2 separate regions of the Homo sapiens genome follow, and region 1 is linked to region 2. Evidence: promoter capture Hi-C in 16 types of primary human blood cells and fetal thymus (Javierre and others, 2016). All regions are on one chromosome and are shown on one strand. The core of a region is centred on a gene start or on the middle of the fragment in contact, and the rest is flanking DNA. Distances in the headings are between cores, read along the strand shown.

Region 1 (6,331 bases), core at 3,273-5,772, 220 kb before region 2:
TAGTGATGCACTTCTGTGGTCCCAGCTGCTCAGAGTGGGGGGATGGGGTGGGAAGGTCTCTTGAGCCCAGGAGGCAGAGGTTGCAGTGAGCTGAGATCAAGCCACTACACTCTAGCCTGGGCAGCAGAGCACGACCCCATCTCAAAAAAAAAAAAATTATGGAAAAGAGGAAAGAAGGGAAAATAACCAGATTTTTTAGTAGTTTGATTTCTGTCCATATCTTATTTCATGTCAGAGGCTGGCTGGGGTTTCTGCATCTTTTTTTTCCATCGGTAAATTAGCAGCCATGAATACTCCTTCTCTACTTGTTACTGTTGCTTTATCAATTGTTCATGATATCAAAATAGGTCAGTAAGTTCATGTTGACTTATTACTGCATATTTCTACTTATTAACTTGGTTACGGTTTTGTGTATAAATTGGAATAAATTATCTGCATACTAAATATTAGAACATGCTTTCTAACCCTATGTGTTTCTCTTGCTCTTTTTTTTTTTTTTTTTTTGAGGTGAGATGGAGTTTGCTCTGTCACTCAAGCTAGAGGGCAGTGGCACCATTATAGCTCACTGCAGTCTCAAACTCTTGGGAACTCCTGGGCTTAAGCAATCCTCCCACTTGAACCTCCCGAGTAGCTGGGACTATAGGTGTGTGCCACCATACCCACCTAATTTTTTTTTTTTTTTAATTTCAAGAGATGGTGTCTCGCTGTTTGGCCCACACTAGTCTCGAACTTCTGGGCTCAAGCAATCCTCCCACCTCAGCCTCCTGAGTCACTGGAATTACAAGGCATAAGCCATCACACCTGGCTAACCCTATGTTTCCTAAAAATATGTGATAACTCTTTCCCCATGATTATGGGGTATCTTAGCCCATTTCATTGCTATAAAGGGATACCTAGCTGGCCATACTGGCATGTGCCTGTAATCTCAGCTACTCAGGAGGCTGAAGTGGGAGGATCACTTGAGCCCAGGAGTTCAAGGCTGCAGTGAGCCATGATTGCACCACTGCACTCCAGCCTAGGTGACAGAGTGAGATCCCACTCTAAAACAATTTTTTTTTTTAAGATGGAGTCTCACTCTGTCATCCAGGCTGGAGTGCAGTGGTGTGATCTTGACTCACTGCAACCTCCATTTGCCGGGTTTAAGTGATTCTCCTGTCTCAGCCGTCCTAGTAGCTAAGATTACAGGCACATGCCACCACTCCTGGCTAATGTTTATATTTTTAGTAGAGACAGTGTTTTACCATGTTGCCCAGGCTGGTCTCGAACTCCTGACCTCAAGTGATCTCCCCACCTCAGCCTCCCAAGGTGCTGGGATTACAGGCGTAAGCCACCATTCCTGGCCTCATGGCTCATGGTTCTGCAGGCTGTACACAGTGCCAGCCTCTGCTTCTGGTGAGGCCTTTGGAAGCCTCCACGCATGGTGGAAATGGAAGGGGAGCTGTTTTGTGCAGAGGCATCACATGGTGACAGAGGAGGCAAGAGTGAGAGGATGGAGGTGCCAGAGGCCATACTCTCATTTTTAGAAACAAGGTCTCACTCTGTTGTTCAGACTGGAATGCTAATCATAGCTCACTGTAACCTCAAACTCCGGGCTCACCTGCCTCAGAGTCCTGAGCAGCTGGGACTACAGGCATGAGCCACCACACCTGGCTTGGACTCTTATAAACAACCAATTCTTGCAGGAACTAACAGAGCTAGAACTCATTCATTACTCCCAGAACAGCACCAAGCCATTCATGGGAGATCTCCTCCATAACTCAAACACCTCCCATTAGTGCCACCTCTAACACTGGAGATCAATTCAACATGAGGTTTGGCGTGTCAAATATCCAAAGTATAACAGGGGGTAATATTCAAGGAATGTGGCTTAAAATAACGTGAGCTAATGTTTCACTCTTAAATCCCCATAGCTTAATTGCTGAAACCTGATTTCTTCCAAGTCAGTTTTCCAAGATTGCTTATGCAAATTGCCTCAAAGTAGCTACCAACACTGTTTACTTCTCTCTGTGCAGACATGAACTGAAGAGCTTCCCACTCCTAGTCTCTTAGCCTGAACAGCTCCCCAATACTTCTTCGTTTCCCTGGTTTTTTGTCTTAGCCAGCCCCTTCTGCAGTGCAACTACCAGGTACAGACACTTTGACTCACACGCTGTCATTCCCAAGTGGGCCTCTTCTCCTTGGGCCACCATCACTTTGCAGAGATTTCACACCTTGGGGTCCCCGAACACTTCTCTACAATAGGCTTCCCCTGTCTGCTTGAGAGGCTCTATAGCTTTAGAATAGGGAACCCGACTCCCTGGGTTTCGACCCGGCTTTTCCATTTCCTAGCCATGTGACCTTAAGCAAGTTATTTTACATCCCTATACCTCAGTTTGGTCTTCTGTAAAAGGATATGATAGTACTTATCTCAAAGTATTGTTATGAGAATTGAAGGAATTAATATAGATAATTGAAACATTTTAGCACATAGTAAATATTCAATAGATGTTAGCTGTTAATAGTACCATTATTTCTGCTACTATTATGGTTGCTGCTACTCTTACTACTATGTTATCTCAGCTGACCTGTAATTGCCTGATGGAAATGGTGGCTCTCTATGCTGCCTTCCCACCCCTGACCGCAGGAGCAATGGCACCTGTGCTGCTGTTCCTCTCTCCCCACCCTACCCTATCCACAACACCTGCCCCCACAACACCAAGGCTGCCACAGGAAAGACCACCATCAAATTCTTTTTTTTTTTTTGAGATGGAGTCTCACTCTGTCACCCAGGCTGAAATGCAGTGGCAAGATCTCGGCTCACTGCAACCTCTGCCTCCCAGGTTCAAGCGATTCTCCTGCCTCAGCCTCCTGAGTAGCTGGGACTACAGGCACCTGCCACCACGCCCAGCTAATTTTTTTTTTTTTTTTTTTTTTTGTATTTTTAGTAGAGACGGGATTTCACCATGTTGGCAAGGGTGATTTCAAACAGCTGACCTTGTGATCCGCCCGCCTCGGCCTCCCAAAGTGCTGGGATAAGAGGCATGAGCCACCGCACCTGACCCACCATTGAATTCTTTTCTCACCAGGAGGCACAGTTCCTTCTTCTATACCAAATCTAATAGTCCTCTTTTTTTTTTTTTTTTTTTTGATTCAGACATTCTTACTAAACCCTCTTGTTTGTCAGGGAAACCTTGCTGCACCTAAGCTGTCTCCTCCTGTCTGGAAGATGTGGACTGCTTGCTGTGGCCCTTGGCCAGTCTTCTGTGCCCTTCCAACACAGATCCTAGCCAAGATTCCTTATGTTAAATGTTAGCCTCTCCTCCAGGTCCCTTCGCTGGAAGTATTATAATTATTGAATTCATATGTCAACGGGACAAAACCTGTTTAAAGCTTGTATAGGATATATACAATGAACTTGTCATTGTGATCACATTATAAATACATATATATCAACTATAGGCTGGGCGCGGTGGCTCACGCCTGTAATCCCAGCACTTTGGGAGGCCGAGGCGGGCGGGTCACGAGATCAGGAGATCGAGACCATCATGGCTAACACAGTGAAACCCCGTCTCTACTAAAAATACAAAAAAAAAAAATAGTCGGGCATGGTGGCACGCGCCTGTAGTCCCAGCTACTCGGGAGGCTGAGGCAGGAGAATGGCGTGAACCTGGGAGGCGGAGCTTGCAGTGAGCTGAGATCGCGCCACTGCACTCCAGCCTGGGTGACAAAGCGAGACTCTGTCTCAAAAAAAATATATATATATATATATATACATATATATATATATCTCAACTATAAAAAAATATGTAATCTACAATACCTAAGATGCTGAATGAACATGTTTTAGCCACAAAATAGTAAAGGAATTGAAGTACTTAGTATATTGAAGAATATGATGTATTTTCCCCCATGCAATACAATAATTTTTGATGTGGAGGATGGAACTTCTTGTGGAGGAGCAGCTTCCCCATCTGCATCTCCAACCGGATTCACTAACACTCTGGACCATCCTTCGGGATCCCCATCTCACCCTTGTTCCTCTTCCAGTTTACTCTTTCCTCTGTATTCATATTTCCTTTCCTCTCTCCCCTCTCCCCTCCATATCCATCTTTCTTTTTTTCATCTATACTCCCTCAGAGAAGCAGAGAATGGCCAGTTTAGGAAAGTTAGTATTTGTTATGGTGTATCTACTCCCCCCCACCAACCTCGTTCACAAATGTGAACACTGCCAGTACAATCATTCATCAAATCAGAGTAAAGCTTTCTCACACCCTTATAGTTTGTTCTAGTCTACTAATGAGAACTGGTATATTTGAAAAATTATTAATTTTCTTACCAAGATGATCTAGGCAACAATTATTGTGGTGGGCTTTGTTTTTATTACCTAAAGTTACAACAAAATATAATTTATAGATTTTACTTCCAAATATGAAATGTTATATAATCAAGCAGTAACACTGTTTTATGGTAAATTTAAATCTTTCATCATAGGATTAAATGTTTTACTTTACCTAAATATTAACATCGTAATGTCACCTAGACCTCATGTAATTGTTTCTCTCCTTGTATATTGCCATTCCTACCCTGCAACACATTCATTAAGTACATAGCTGTACATAATGCCACACTAGGTACCACTACAAAGATTCAGTCCCCCCCAAGAATTTATTATTAAAGATTATTATTTCAAAAGTTTTAGTGAATGATCATGGAGTTCTGTCCTTTTTTGGAATTATTAACATTTTCCAATTAAAATGTCATATTTCCAAGTTGGTTGTAATATGGCATCTTCTAACCTGTTATCTGTGCCTATAAAATAAGCTTTAGAAAGTATAATCACAGTGAGCCAGAAGAAGCTATTCTACACACTTCAATAGTCCGTAAATTAGTATAGGAATTGTTGCTTTATTCATCTGAACCATTAGGCTATAAATCACTTGACACATACTTGCAAGACTCTACAAATTTAGCACTTAAAGTTTCATTTGGAAGAATAGAATTAGCTTTCTATGAAGGAGCAAGAGGTTTCCAGATATGACAAAGCTATTATTTCAAATTATGTAATTGAATTAGTAAAATTTCAGATACGGGAGGGAAAAAAATCTCAGCTCCTTAGCCTCATTCTTCATTTAACAGATGAGTTTTACCAAGGCCAGCAACATAGAGGTTACACTCCTTTGCCGAGGTCAGGTAACTAGTTATTGACAAAACCAAGATCAAAAGTTTTATTTCCATTAGTCTAGTCTTCTTGCTATAGATATTTATATTTTATATTGTACATATAAAAGTACCGATATCTTTATTCATAATACATATATGTTTTGCCTTTGAAATAATTAAGATGCTTTCAGTTCTGTAAGAGCCTTTTTGGTCTTATTCACCAATGTATCTCCATATCTCCAGCACTTAGCAACACAGCACATTCCTGACAGATAGTAGTCTCAAAATTTGTTCCAAGAATAGCATTGTAACTGATGTCCAATAATTAATACTGCCTTCATCTGATCCATTCTCTAGCCTGCATTCAGAGTAACATTATGCAAGTCTAAACAGATTATGTCATCACCTCCTTAAAACACTTCAATCCTACTAGGCCTGCATGGTCTGACCTCTATCTGCTTCTCCAACGTCATCTTATACCATGTTTACTTCCTTTCTCTTAGGTCTAACTATACCTGCCTTCCTTCTAAGCATTTTTTGCACCTGCTCTTCTCTCTACCTATCCTTCTAATCCCCATTCCTTTAACCTAGAGTAGGCAACTACTACTCATCTTTTAGTGCATGCTCACTTCCAACTCCTTGAAAGGTCTTTTCTAACTACCCACCTTATCACAACCCTCACTCACACCCCCCAGCACCATGAGTATCTCTTTTGTGGTACTTGATGTAATTACTAGATTAATGTTTGTCTCTTTCACTATCTAAGCCACATGAAAGTAGGGACAATGTCTTTTTGTTAACTATTTTGTCCACAGTGCCTGACAGATACGAGGCACTCAGATATTGCTGAAATAACAAGGGAATGAATTAATATATAAATAAGTTTATTCTCCTTATAATATCAGTGGTGCTTTTTCCAAAGATAATAAAGTTTCAATTATTTTTACTTTTATCTAATCCATTATTTACGACAAATTTTCCTGTTGTTTCTTACTAGGTATGATGGATGAAGTGGCATATTTCCAAATTAATAAATTTACATCTTTAATTGACGTTTGAGTATATTATCTAAGAATGACATGATTTTTGTACCATAGCCAGCCCAGCTATGAATGGAAGAGGGTTAATGCTAATGCTACTCAACTAATTCAATTAAGACTTGCCACTGTTTATGAACATAGGCAATTATCCA
Region 2 (7,039 bases), core at 2,390-4,889:
GTGGCATGCACCTGTAATCCCAGCTACTCAGGAGGCTGAGGCAGGAGAATCGCTTGAACCCAGGAGGTGGAGGTTGCAGTGAGCGGATACGGCGCCACTGCACTCCAGCCTGGGGGACAGAGTGAGATTCCGTCTCAAAAAAAAAAAAAAAAAAAGGAAACAAGATACACTGGAAGTTCTCTAACCTTCAGTCAGTATGTTCCACACAGGGAATGAAGAACTTAGGCTATTCTTCTGTTTCCATCTATATATCTAACAAGAATTAAATTATTCTCAGAACTGATTATGCCAGTTGTAATTACATAGTTCATATAAATATCATGGAAGCCAATAAAATATGAGTTGTTTCTTGGAATGCTGAATTTAATGCTTTGTAAGGACTTCATTAAAAATTACTTAAAAATTATAAAACAGGCCGGGTGCAGTGTGTAATCAAGCCTGTAATCTCAGCACTTTGGGAGGCTGAGGAGGGTGGATCACTTGAGGTCAGGAGTTCAAGACCAGCCTGACCAACATGGTGAAACCCCGTCTCTACTAAAACTACAAAACATTAGCCAGGCATGGTGGTGCACAGCTGTAATCCCAGCTACTCAGGAGGCTGAGACACGAGAATCTCTTGAACCTGGGAGGCGGAAGTTGCAGTAAGCCGAGATCCCACCACTGCACTCCAGCCTGGGCAACAAAGTGAGACTCTGTCTCAAAAAAAAAAAAAAGTATTTTTAAAAGGTTCTCAGCCGGGTATGGTGGCTCACGCCTGTAATCCCAGCATTTTGGGAGGCCAAGGCAGGTGGATCACCTGAGGTCAGGAGTTTGAGACCAGCCTGGCCAACATGGTGAAACCCTGACTCTACTAAAAATACAAAAAAAAAAAAATTAGCCAGGTGTGGTGGCGGGCACCTGTAGTCCCAGCTACTCGGGAGGCTAAGGCAGGAGGACCACTTGAACCCAGGAGGTGGAGGTTGCAGTGAGCTGAGATTGTACCACTGCACTCCAGCCTGGGTAACAGAGTGAGACTCTGTCTCAAAATAAATAAATAAAATAAAATAACAAATTCTCACTCCAGTTTAAAGAAACTGAATTGCTGATTAAAGGTTATGGTTAATGTATGGATGCCAGTCAGCAGATCCATGCTAGTAATAATAATAATAATGGCTTTAGCTCTATATTATTTAAACATTGTTATAACAAAAAGATTAAGATTTCTCTATATCAAATATGTATATATAATATCTTCATATTTAATACGTTAGGAGGCTCAAAGATAGAGGTAGCCAGACCTCTTGACTTTTTTTTTTTTTTTTTTTGAGCTGGAGTCTTGCTCTGTCACCCAGGCTGGAGTTCAGTGGCACGATCTCTGGTCACTGCAAGCTCTGCCTCCCGGGTTCACACCATTCTCCTGCCTCAGCCTCCCAAGTAGCTGGGACTACAGGCACCCACCACCATGCCCTAATAATTTTTTGTATTTTTAGTAGAGATGGAGTTTCACCGTGTTAGCCAGGATGGTCTCGATCTCTTGACCTCATGATCCGCCCGCCTCGGCCTCCTAAAGTGCTGAGATTACAGGCGTGAGCCACCGCGCCCAGCCGACTCTTGTAACTCCTCAAATCACCCCATCTCTTGACCTGACCCCGAGATAAGCCTCCTTATTTCCACACTCTAGACTTTCTTACGTGCTTATAAGATAGAGATGTTGACTTCCTGCACGTTTCCCATTCCTTCGTTTCATGCCTTTCACGTACATCATAGCCGTAATGTTTCTATTTCTGGATTATAACAAAGGTGTTAAGTTGGTTTTCTTTGGTCTTCTCCCCTGTGTTTCTCTGCCATCTCTCGTTTCTTGTTTCTGCCCTGCCCGGCTGTGTGTCTTGTGCATTACGGTTATCCTACTCATCTTTCACCTGATTTAAAAAACTCATTCAGTCTAGGACTTAGAGTGTAAGTGTGTTCAAATAGTGTTAGGTTCACATAATGTCTAAAACTTTTAGTAGGAAAAATGCTACCTTGCCAATTTGTCTGTGTCTGAAAGGAATTTGCATTTAAAAATTTGGCAATTTGACAGAGGCAAATTTAAAATTTGAAAATATTTTCTTAAATATAGACTCATTTACAGATAGAAGGCAAGGGCAGGAAGTGATGGTGACCAGCGGTGCCTGAATGAACTCAGGAATGTAACTGTAGATCTAGGGTCCCAAACTTTAGGTTTCAAAGGATCTCTTGGAGTACTTGCTGAAAAATGTAGGTTCCTAAGTCCACTGCCAGAAACTCTGACTCAGTGGGTCAAGAATGGAATAACTAAACAATGGCCCCATGCAGTGGTTCATGCCTGTAATCCCAGCACGTTGGGAGGTTGAAGCAAGAGGATCACTTGAGGTCAGGAGTTCGAGACCAGCCTGGCCTACATGGTAAAACCCCATCTCTACTAAAAATACAAAAAAATTAGCTGGGCATGGTGGCATGCACCTGTAATCCCAGCTACTTGGGAGGCTGAGGCAGGAGAATTGCTTGAATCTGGGAGGTGGAGGTTGTAGTGGGCCGAGATTGTGCCATTGCACCACTGCACTCCAGCCTGGGCGATAAAGTGAGATTCTGTCAAAAAAATAAATAAATACATGAAAGAGAGAAAGAAAGAAAGAAAGAAAGAAAGAAAGAAAGAAAGAAAGAAAGAAAGAAAGAAGGAAAGAAGGAAAGAATAGAAAAGAAAAGAAAGAAAGAAAGAAAGGAAGAAAAGGAAAGAAAGAAATGCTGAATAAGATATAGAGACAACATACAGCTGGGCCAGCTTATGACATCTGATAGTGGGGAGATTTGGGGCTGGGTCCTGAATCTGAGGGTAATTAACTCCCTGTAACTTCTTTTCCTAATCTGTAAAAGGATAGTGACAGCGAGACATTGTGATGGGGTTAATATTTTGGAAAACATCCACATGTTTTTTTCCTTTGCCTTTCTGAGTGTGTCAACTACTTCCTACCTGTCCAGCCTAACACACAGGCATGTTGTCTTGGTAGGGATGGAGATCTGAGAAGGAGATTAGAATTTGTGTCTGAAGGTTTGCAAAGAGGAAGAAGTCGTCAATATTTAGATTCTGACATTCAAGATGGAATTATGTAGCAAGACCATTGCTATGAGACAGTATTTCTATTTTCCTTTATCCACTCCCACCCTGCCCTCTTCCCACCCTCACAGTAGCATGAGAAAAACCACATATGGAAGTTTCAGGTCATAAAAATTATCTTATAATTTAGAAAACAGGCCTTGTGCCTATGACAGCCAGGCCATGAGGCTTAGAGCTCTGTGGTAGAATGAGGATATGTTAGGGAAAAGCAAAGAAAATCCCTCCCCTCTTTGGCTGAGGACATTATCAAAAGGAGAGCAAGAAAGAGAAGAGAGAAATGGGCTTGAGGTGAGTGCAGATAAGGGGTGCATGGATCCTGAGGGCAAGGAGAGGAGCTTCTTTCAGTTTCCCTCCTTTCCAACGACTACTTTGAGACAAGAGCTGTCCCTGGGCAGTAGGAAAGGGGAGGGACAGTTGCAGGTTCAATAGATGTGGGTGGGGCCAAGGCCACAGAACCCAGAAAAACAACTCATTCGCTTTCATTTCCTCACTGACTATAAAAGAATAGAGAAGGAAGGGCTTCAGTGACCGGCTGCCTGGCTGACTTACAGCAGTCAGACTCTGACAGGATCATGGCTATGATGGAGGTCCAGGGGGGACCCAGCCTGGGACAGACCTGCGTGCTGATCGTGATCTTCACAGTGCTCCTGCAGTCTCTCTGTGTGGCTGTAACTTACGTGTACTTTACCAACGAGCTGAAGCAGGTCAGTGCAGTGCAGTGCACTCAGTCTTCGAGGCGCTTAGCAAATGTCTGGTTACCTGCTTCTTTGCATGTCAGCTTGCCCCTCTCTGAAGACTTTCCTGCTTCCTTTCTCTGTGGGTACACTCTAACTGCTAAATCACATAACAACTGAGGTCTTTGCAAAACTGTAAGTTCAAGAAATTGTGTAAACTAAGTGCAGTTACACAACTGGCTTCACTAGTTACTAGCAGATGTGGGCAACAAAACTCCTGAGGGATTTTTTGTTTTTAAAAGTATGTGTATTTTATAATATCAGCCATTGCAACTCTTCATGAAAGCTTTCTGCTAAATGCTTTGTAGTTCTTTTGTTTTCCTTTTCCAAACTTTTATTTGTGCACATTCAATTGAAAAAGATAATTTTTACAGGTTCTTTGGTGCCCATTTTCAGCATACAAAAATGTAAAAGACTATTCACAGATAAAACACATTAGCTCAAAATGGAAAAAAATAACAATGACAACAATAAAACAACCTAAGGTAGTGCACACTGTGACAGCTCTGCTTATGGGGACATGAGAATTCCTGCGAAAATAAATAGAATGTCCTTTTGTAAAAGCAGCAATGACATGTCTTGTAAACTTCCTTTTTTATATTATAACAAGGTTTGGAATAAAATCCAAAGGGACTGGAGCTTACACTGTAGCCATGAATAAATAAAAGAGTCTATTTCCTCAATTACCGTTGGTTCAGTTTTCCTTTTGAGTCCAATGTGCAGCAGGTTTTAAAAGGTGCACAGTAAGAGATTCTAACCAATTAAGTGGTGAATGATAAAATTTCTTTCCTGCTTTCAAACACAAATGGGTAAATCTGTTCCACAGCAGTAGCAACAGCCTTTAAATAGGGCCTTGTTACTGTGATACTTCCTGTCGAAAAAATCTGTAATGTAGCTCTTAGAGTCTTTATCCAATAGCACACAGCAGGATGAAGTTCAGATTCATAACTCACATGAGGTCTATTGCTCTTTGTGAATTCTGGCAAACAGATTTCTTTATTTTTAAATTTTTTTATTTTACTTTAAGTTCTGGGATACGTGTACAGAACGTGCAGGTTTGTTACATAGGTATACATGTGCCATGGTGGTTTGCTGCACCCATCAACCCATCATCTAGGTTGTAAGCCCCACAGGCATTAGGATTTGTTCTAATGCTCTCCCTCCCCTAGCCTCCCACCCCCGACAGGCCCCAGTGTGTGTGTTGCCCTCCCTGTGTCCATGTGCTCTCACTGTTCAACTCCCACTTATGAGTGAGAACATGCAGTGTTTGGTTTTCTGTTCCTGTGTTAGTTTGCTGAGAATGATGGCTTCCAGCTTCATCCATGTCTCTGCAAAGGACATGAATTCATTCTTTTTAATGGCTGCATAGTATTCCATGGTGTATATGTGCCACATTTTCTTTATCCAGTCTATCACTGATGAGCATTTGGGTTGGTTCCAAGTCTTTGCTATTGTAAATGGTGCTGGAATAAACATATGTGTGCATGTGTCTTTATAGTAGAATGATTTATAATCCTTTGGGTATATACCCAGTAATGGGATTGCTGAGTCAAATGGTATTTCTGGTTCCTTGAGGAATTGCCACACTGTCTTCCACACTGGTTGAACTAATTTATACTCCCACCAACAGTGTAAAAGCATTCCTATTTCTCCACATCCTTCCAGCATCTGTTGTTTCCTGACTTTTTAATGACCACCATTCTAACTGGAGTGAGATGGTATCTCATTATGGTTTTGATTTGCATTTCTCTAATGACCAGTGATGATGAGCTTTTTTTCATGTTTGTTGGCCACATAAATGTCTTCTTTTGAGAAGTATCTGTTCATATCTTTTGCCCACTTTTTGATGTGGTTTTTTTCTTGTCAATTTGTTTTACAAGAAACAAATTCCTTGTAGATTCTGCATATTAGACCTTTGTCAGATGGGTAGATTGCAAAAATTTTCTCCCATTCTGTAGGTTCCCTGTTCACTCTGATGATAGTTTCTTCTGCTGTGCAGAAGCTCTTTAGTTTAATTAGATCCCATTTGTCAATTTTGACTTTTGTTGCAATTGCTTTTGGTGTTTTAGTCATGAAGTCTTTGCCCATGCCATCTTGAATGGTATGCCTAGGTTTTCTTCTGGGGTTTTTATGCTTTTAGGTTTTACGTTTAAGTCTTTAATCCATCTTGAGTTAATTTTTGTAGAAGCTGTAAGGAAGGGGCCCAGTTTCTGTTTTCTGCATATGGCTAGCCAGTTTTCCCAGCACCATTTATTAAATAGGGAATCCTTTCCCCATTGCTTGTTTTTGTCAGGTTTGTCAAAGATCAGGTGGTTGTAGATGTGTAGTGTTATTTCTGAGGCCTCTGTTCTGTTCCATTGGTCTATGTATCTGTTTCCATACCAGTAACATGCTGTTTTGGTAACTGTAGCCATCTTCCCTGCTTTGTTGTTGCAGGTTGGAGTTACAGTTCTTGACTCATGAATTCTTGAGGGTGAGGGTAGCTGTATCAGAGCTGTGTCTGCTTCTGCTCATTAGTATACCTCTGGGTCTAGCATGTGGTTCCCAAGTAGCCACTAATACTAATACTTGTGGTTCACTACATACTTATTGAGTGAATGAACAGCCTTCACAGATGTGGTAGGCACCACGAATATGCAGGCGACAAGGGTAGAGTCAGGCTCAACCCAAAGCCAGGCCCTAAGTCACTGAACACTCCCGTTTTGTATTCCAGATGTAGCTAGTCCTGGTGAACTTTCACATCTTTGAAATGTTTTGCTTTTAGTTATGTGGCATTCCTGTGTTGACAATAAGTGAGAATACAAAGGACTGGCATTCTGCCTATTCCTGGGGCACGGGCATGTCATGGGTAAAATCTGTAATAAAGAAGTTATCAGATAGACACAGCTGTTCATGATAAAACAATTGAAAAGCAAACTGCCAATCTCTGCCTGTGGATGGTCCATGTACAAATTGAGGTATCTTTGACAGACAAAACAAACAAACAGTGCTATTTTAATTTATGATTTTCTCGATGAAAACCCCTGGAACTATGACTGCAAAATTGCTGAAAATAAACCAACTCAGTTTTTGACTTCTAATATATATTTTAATTCATTGTATATTAAATAGTAGAGAATTATGAGCTGCAAGGAACGTCAGATCCTCCCCCCACCACCACAACCACTTTTTACAGACGAGGAGACAAGAAATA

The links. The method cuts DNA at HindIII sites, captures the fragments that hold promoters and counts their contacts. A CHiCAGO score of 5 or more calls a contact.
Region 1: a fragment that was not itself captured here is called in contact with the fragment with the promoter of TNFSF10 in region 2 in 2 of 17 cell types (total B cells and naive B cells); the score reaches 5.2 in total B cells.

What each region holds. Positions count from the first base shown.
Region 1 is chr3:172,738,897-172,745,227 of GRCh38, reverse strand. No RefSeq gene overlaps it. Among named protein-coding and RNA genes, the nearest start is that of ECT2, 8.7 kb to the left of the region's middle. The HindIII fragment of the contact is 561 bases long and covers 4,242-4,802 here.
Region 2 is chr3:172,520,030-172,527,068 of GRCh38, reverse strand. TNFSF10 (TNF superfamily member 10) reads left to right here and starts at 3,639. Exons shown (of 5, transcript NM_003810.4): 1 at 3,639-3,816. The coding sequence starts at 3,685. It also overlaps the pseudogene TBPL1P1. RefSeq lists an enhancer at 3,658-3,707. The HindIII fragment of the contact is 8,260 bases long and covers 1-4,134 here.